Regions from separate parts of the Homo sapiens genome. Here region 2 is linked to region 1. Evidence: promoter capture Hi-C in human tissues and cell types (Jung and others, 2019). All regions are on one chromosome and are shown on one strand. Each heading gives the region's core, a stretch centred on a gene start or on the middle of the fragment in contact. The rest is flanking DNA. Distances are from core to core; before and after follow the strand shown. Region 1 holds the start of ZNF418 (zinc finger protein 418). Region 2 holds the start of ZNF264 (zinc finger protein 264).

Region 1 (3,252 bases), core at 467-2,966:
ACTCCAGCCTGGGCGATAGAGCGAGACTCCCGCTCAAAAAAAAAAGGAAAATCTAGTTGCCATTTTACAAACTGTGAATCTTGAATCCAGCCACAGCTCCTTACTCATTAATATGGTCCAGTAACCCTCACCTGCATTATGGCAGGAGTTTAAACTCTGATCCTCCTTCCTCCTCCCTCAAACACAGTGTGTTCTCTTCTTTGCAGCCAGATGATGCCTGCAGACAAATGGGACTGTGGTAACATCACCTCCTCGCCGCCCTCTTGCCTCCCCACCGAATTTTTACCTCTAAGCATTTCATGACCTGGTACCAACTCTGTAGTTAACCTTCAAAGTATGTTTACATGGGTTGACAGAAATGGGAATACCTCCATACATCCTGTGTCATGGACTTAGGATTCTGGGTTTAGGGTTTCTCCAGTGTTCTCAGATCAAAGGACTGAAAAAATGGCAAGTAAGAGTCCCAGGACATCACAAGCTAGAGAACATGTGAATGGGGAATAAGGCCAGTGAGGGAATGGAACACCCTCTAATTCCCTCTGTGGGTTCCTTTTTTTGAGCCAGAGTTTCGCTCTTGTTGCCCAGGCCGGAGTGCAATGGCTCACCGCAACCTCTGCCTCCCGAGTTCAAGCAATTCTCCTGCCTTAGCCTCTGAGTAGCTGGGATTACAGTCATGCGGCATCACCACGCCTGGCTAATTTTGTATTTTTGTTAGAGACGGGGTTTCTCCATGTTGGTCAGGCTGGTCTCGAACTCCCGACCTCAGGTGATCCGCCCGCCTCGGCCTCCCAAAGTGCTGGGATTACAGGTGGGAGCCACCTTGCCCGACCCCCTCAGTGGGTTCTTTACGTGCTTTTGTAGCCAGGAGTGTCTGAGGGGAAAGCAGACGTTACAAAGGGGATCTGATAAGCTCAGGTCTCCTTGAACCTTTTCTTATCGCTGGAGCCAGGTGACCTCAGACTGGTTGACCTGCGTGTCTCAGTGCAAAATGTCATCTCTACCACCTATGTGATCTATCAACAAAGGAGTCAACCTCCCAGAACCCTAAGGTCCTCATCTCCTCTACTATGTTCTTCCTTTGGCCTTTGGGAAACCTTAAAAGCCTGGACTTGGATCGCATCCCTCCTTTCTTCGAAACTCTCCATGGCTTCTAGCGTCTTCACAGCGAATACACAGCCCCCAGCCTGCTCTTCCAGGAGAAGCTTCGCCTCACACGTTGTTCCCTACAGGCGCCTGTGGACCCCAGGTTCCATCCTCCCGGGTCTGTCCTCCAGGCCATAGCCCGCGCCGGTCCCTGTGCCTGTCGCTCTCCCCACCGCATCCCACAGGTGTCAGAAACAAGGACCTCTCCCGCGAACGCCTCAGTGTCCCGACGCCGGGTCCGGGCTGCAGACCTGTGAACAGTCGCCGCTCTCTCGCTGCTTCAGGATTCGGGTTAGGATGAGGTGACCTGAGGGCAGGGAAGGCACAATTACCTGAGCCGGGAGCCTCAGCGCGGCCGCCGCCATCCCGAGTACGCGGGGAAAGCACTGCCGGGAGCGGCGGGCGCCGTTACGGGGCCTAAGATCTGCCTCTGTGCAGCAAGAAGGACTCTTCACCTTCTGGGTTCAGACACCGCGGTTCGGACCCATAGCTCCAGCGCCTCTCACCTCACAAACCGCAGAAACACACCCAACATTAACCAAAATGGTCGCTACCAGAGAACGCTGAGAATCCCGCCACTACGTTACGTGCGCACACAGAAACGCCTTTATTCTGAGCCCTTACTGGTTCTGTTGCGCTGTCATTCAATGTAGAGCTTTCTGGGTAATGTAGTTCCCCAGGTTCCAAGGTAGTAAAGCTGCCGCTTCCCAAAGGCGCTTCTGCAGGGAAGTCCCAGCCCTACCTCAGGGGGTTCATTAAAGCGCGTACCCTTTTAGGGCAGAGGATGGTCTCGCCCCTCCTTAGAGGCCATATTGAGATTCCTGGGGAATCCCTGTTTGTAACTGACCACCTAAGTGTTTGCAAAAATATTAATTCACATTTCTGTAAATTCAAGCTCCCAGGCGCTAAAAATACTGTGAAGGCCCCCAAAGGCTACAAATCCAAATTCGTGTATCACTTTATACAATCGTTTAGACACAGAATGCTTGCACTGGAAGCAGAGGCTGATAAACATTACTCTGTTATAATTCACATGAATGCACTCTTGTTACCGGATAGAATGTCTTGGCTGTGAGTTGTCCAGTTGTTGGCGCATTGAACAAAGAAGTGAACAAAACACACAAAAAAAGCAACGAAAGAACGGACCAATGAAAGCGCAGATTTATTGAGGGGAAAGTACACTCCACAGAAGTGGAATGTAGGTGTGGGAGCAGGCGACCAAGCGGCTCAAGAACCCCGATTACAATGTTTTTTAGGGTTTTATTAGGTTGGTGCAAAAGTAATTGCGGTTTTTGCCATGAATAAGCTAGAATTTTATAATACCCCAAGAGTTCTTTAAAGGCCTCCAATCCTATGAAGGACTGGTGCACAACCAATCAGAGGCTGAAGTGGAGACTTCTGTCTTGTTACCACAGGAGTGAGGACGTGGCCTGTGTGCTGCCTCATCTTGCCTAGAACTAGCTGCACCTGCTGTTCTTTTGCTTATGCCTTCATTCTTGGTTACCCTAATTCCCTATTCTCCTGCCTCACTCTGAGGCATTAGAGTTGGTTTTTCAGTCTGCCAGGGACAAAAGAGAACTAATCCAGATAGGACCATGCCAAGGAAGATAGAGGAGAGGCTAAAGAAAGAGTACAAAGGTCAATCAGTCGTTCCCATGGAAAAACAACTCTCCTGCTTATATAGTCAATTATTGTGTCCAATTCATTCAGCAAAACATTTATTCATGTAATATCCCTTACTTGGTATTCTAACTTATATTTTCAACTCATTTTAGGAACTTGAAGTCAGTCTCAGGTAAAGAACAATGAAAGAGAAATCTCAGCTTGGTATTGGTAATGGTGGTGATAATCTCCACCTGGAGACACTAGGCGTATGTTAAATTATCGAGCTTGTTATCTTTCCTGGGAAGTGATTATCATTTGTTTCTCTTGTGACAGCGGGGAGTGTTCTGCATGAGGAACTAATATGATACCAGAAAAACAGGTGAAATGCCAGTTACAGAAACTTATTACCAACGACTATCTAATAACTGCGATGACAGAAATAGGTCAATTGAAACATGAGTGGATGGTGAAAAAAATTTACACTTCACAGAAGTTTTTCTTTCT
Region 2 (3,252 bases), core at 233-2,732, 740 kb before region 1:
CACCCACAATACCCCTCCTCAGCATAAAGCAGCCAGAAAGATCACGTCCAGATTCCCCATGATTGAGGAATTGATAAATAGAAACAGGGAACTGAAACCAGCTCCAGTGTCCCATAGAACTGATATTTATGGTTTCTTTTGAATCAACACATTATAGACATTGAGCCTCCCCTTCCTAAAACTCGAGACACTTTTATTTGTCTTATCTGATTTCCTTTCTCAGGAAACCAAGCATCAGGCCTCCCAGATAGTATAAAGAAACTGAAACTTACTGGATTACCACATCTGGAAAAACGAGATGCTATACCCCTTACCCATGATGATTGCCTAACTGACCATCTGCTGCCTGTTGACCCATTCCTCTTCCTTACCCCTTCCTAATTCCTGTTTTCTCAAACATAGTTACACTTCTTCCCTGATGTATAAACCCCTAGTTTTAGTCAGTTGAGGAAAGAGATTTGAGATTGATCTCCCATTTTCCTCAGCTGCAGCACCGAATAAAGCCTTCATCCCTGACAATACTCATTGTCTTGCTGACTGGCCTTCTGTGCAGCAAGCAGCAGGATCTAGATGCAAGGACCTGGCCTTTCTGGTAATATTGTCATCAACCATTTAATGATGTAGACTTGGTCCCCGGCTCATGCTCTGTGTATTTTCTTCTCCATCTACATGCATTGCCTTGATGGTCTCACTCAATATCATGACTTGAAATAACAGTGTAAGGTAACTCCTAAATTCATATATTCATGCTCAAACCTTCTTCCAACATTCAGTCGTAAGTCGAATTGCCTGTGACAGAGATACTTTGTGGTTCTGTAGACATTTCAAACTAACCATCCTGAGCCTCCGAACCTCCTCCACTTGCAGCCTCCCCACCTCAGAAGTGGGCAAATCCACTTTTTGTGTGGTCTGGGCCAAATACATGACTCCCTGCATCACGTAGAGGCTGTGCTGGTCCAAAGAAGGCTCAAAAGAGGGCAGTTTGCGCACACAACGTGTCGGGGCAGGGCTTCCAGATGATCATTCGGCTTTTTTGTGTCTTCCAAGATGATGATCCGGGGAGGAGGGATGTGAAAGGGGGTCAGTCGCCAGGCGAGCTGAGGACCCAGTTCTGCGCCTTTGCCTGTGCCCTGACCTGAAGGAAAGTCCCTGTCTCCCGAGCTCCGATTTTCCCGAGAGAAGAATGCAATGTAACCCTTGCCCCTCGGTTCCCTCCCTCCATCCTTCCCCTCGAGTTGTGCCCACCGTAAAGAGGTGGGTCTGGAGCGTCTCCTCGGGTCCTGGAGTGCCTTTCCCTGGGAGGAAAACTTGCGCCGTGAAGCGTTCCTCCCGTTGTTGAACACATGAGGAAAACTACACTACTTAGAAGGCTGTGCATTATGCGTACGGCGGGAGCTGGGCCAACGACGGCCTAGGACGGGGACGTTTCCGACGGCTCACGCCGGTGGGGGCGGGACTTCCGGGTTGCTCGCTGCGGACGCCATTTTCTTCTGCACTTCTGTCTGGAGAGGTCTGTAGCCACTGAGGGCCCCGGTCGGGGCCGCTTTGCAGGTCCCTAGTCAGGACCGAGCAGGGGAGTAGGATAGGAATCCCCGCCGCACCTTTGTACGAGCCTGACCCCTTCCGTGGGTTTGTTCCTGGGTCGCCGTCAAGCTGCGGTCTCTCCTCCCCCGCCCTTCAGCCCCGCGGTCTCCAGGGGCGGCGCCCTGGGTCTGGAACGCGGTTGCCACCGAGGAGGCGGCGGCCCTGCGTCTGGAACGCCGTTGCCACCGAGGAGGCGGCGGCCCCGAGCGCGCCTGGAAGCCCCGGGCAACCGGCCAGGGTCGGGCACAGGTGGGGTCCGTCAGGCCGCCCGGGGCTCCTCTGTCCCAGCTCTGCGGCCCAGGGGGTGACGTGATGGCGGCAGCGGTGCTGACGGACCGGGCCCAGGTGAGTGGACGGTGGCTTCGCGGTTGCCGCTTCCTTGCCAGCGCTGAGGCGGTTTCCGAAGTGGGTGGGAGCCCAGGTATCCCCTGGATTTGTCTTCGCAGTCGTCGTTCGCTTTGGTGTGTGGAGCTGGTTTGCCACTTAATTTATACCTGGCCGTAAGGAGTGTTGGGCCTACTGGAAGGAGCTCCGTAGGTTGTTGAGTGAATGATGCTTCCTCTGGGGACTCCCATCATCCTTGGCCTGCAAGCATTCTCTGGTGGACCAGGTCTCATTCCAGCATGAATTGGGGGCCTGAGGGGGGAAGGGGAGGGCAGGGCAGTAGCAAGCCGACAAATGCGCGAGCAGAGACAAGGTATGTTGTATGTTTAAGGAGGCTCAGGAGGGTGTGTAAGGTTGCCATGGTTTTCCTGCGGCCGCTGAGACGTGGAGGGCAACAGTGTGTGGTCTTTTCCTGGATGTTCTAGCCATCCGCAACTACTGCAGACATTGTGGCCAGTCAGATGCCCTTACTCTCATCGCTACAGCCTGCATTATCCTTGGCCGCTCGTGTTCCGTGGCCCCAAAGTATCCTGGCGTCAGAGACAAGTTCTGTCGGAACCCAGTAAGGAAAGAGGCCGATGGTTGGTTCATTGTGGAATTTCCTTGGGGGATCTGGGAGACCCAGGGAGATCCCAGAGGGCATGGGAAGCTGGTCTGGAGCCTGTCGTTCCCCAAGTAGATGCAGCCCTTCCAGTGCCGCTCTGTGGGGTCAGTGAGGAATGCTGAGCTTTTTGTGCCCGTGTTCACATACTTTTTTTTGTTTTGAGACAGGGTCTCACTCTGTCGCCCAGGCTGGAGTACAGTGGTGCACTCTCAGCTCACTGCAGTCTCTGCCTCCCAGGTTCAAGCAATTCTCCTGCCCCAGCCTGCCGAGTAGTTGGGATTACAGGCATGCACTACCACACCTGACTGATTTTTGTATTTTAGTAGAGACTGGGTTTCACCATATTTGCCAGGCTGGTCTTCAACTCCTGGCCTCAAGCGATCCGCCCACCTCGACCTCCCAAAGTGCTGGGATTACATGCATGAGCCACCATGCCCGGCCCACAGATACGTTTTTCAGGGCTAATTGAAATAGACTTAATGTTAGAAATGAGTGGAAATGCTTATAACTTCATCGCATTAGATTTGCTTTGATGTTGGGGGAGTGTTGGAGTTACACTGTTAGACCGTGAATCATAGTAACCCCATGTTTAGATCCTATCTATGGTGGTGAGATGTGTGACTGGGTGAATTGATAGCGCTTCCTTAGCATGAAGTCATTGACTGTGAAGGTGATGATGG

Evidence for each region. The method cuts DNA at HindIII sites, captures the fragments that hold promoters and counts their contacts. A contact is called where the count stands out against the background at its distance.
Region 2: a contact is called between the fragment with the promoter of ZNF264 here and the fragment with the promoter of ZNF418 in region 1, in 1 of the 25 tissues and cell types used here (adrenal gland).

Annotation. Positions count from the first base shown.
Region 1 is chr19:57,933,686-57,936,937 of GRCh38, forward strand. ZNF418 (zinc finger protein 418) reads right to left here and starts at 1,717. Exons shown (of 6, transcript NM_133460.3): 1 at 1,476-1,717; 2 at 132-217. The coding sequence starts at 137. RefSeq lists enhancers at 1,120-2,002, 1,595-1,684. The HindIII fragment of the contact is 9,006 bases long and covers 1-3,252 here.
Region 2 is chr19:57,190,018-57,193,269 of GRCh38, forward strand. ZNF264 (zinc finger protein 264) reads left to right here and starts at 1,483. Exons shown (of 4, transcript NM_003417.5): 1 at 1,483-1,929. The coding sequence starts at 1,897. RefSeq lists enhancers at 1,319-1,378, 1,399-1,488, 1,499-1,558 and a silencer at 1,729-1,998. The HindIII fragment of the contact is 13,408 bases long and covers 1-3,252 here.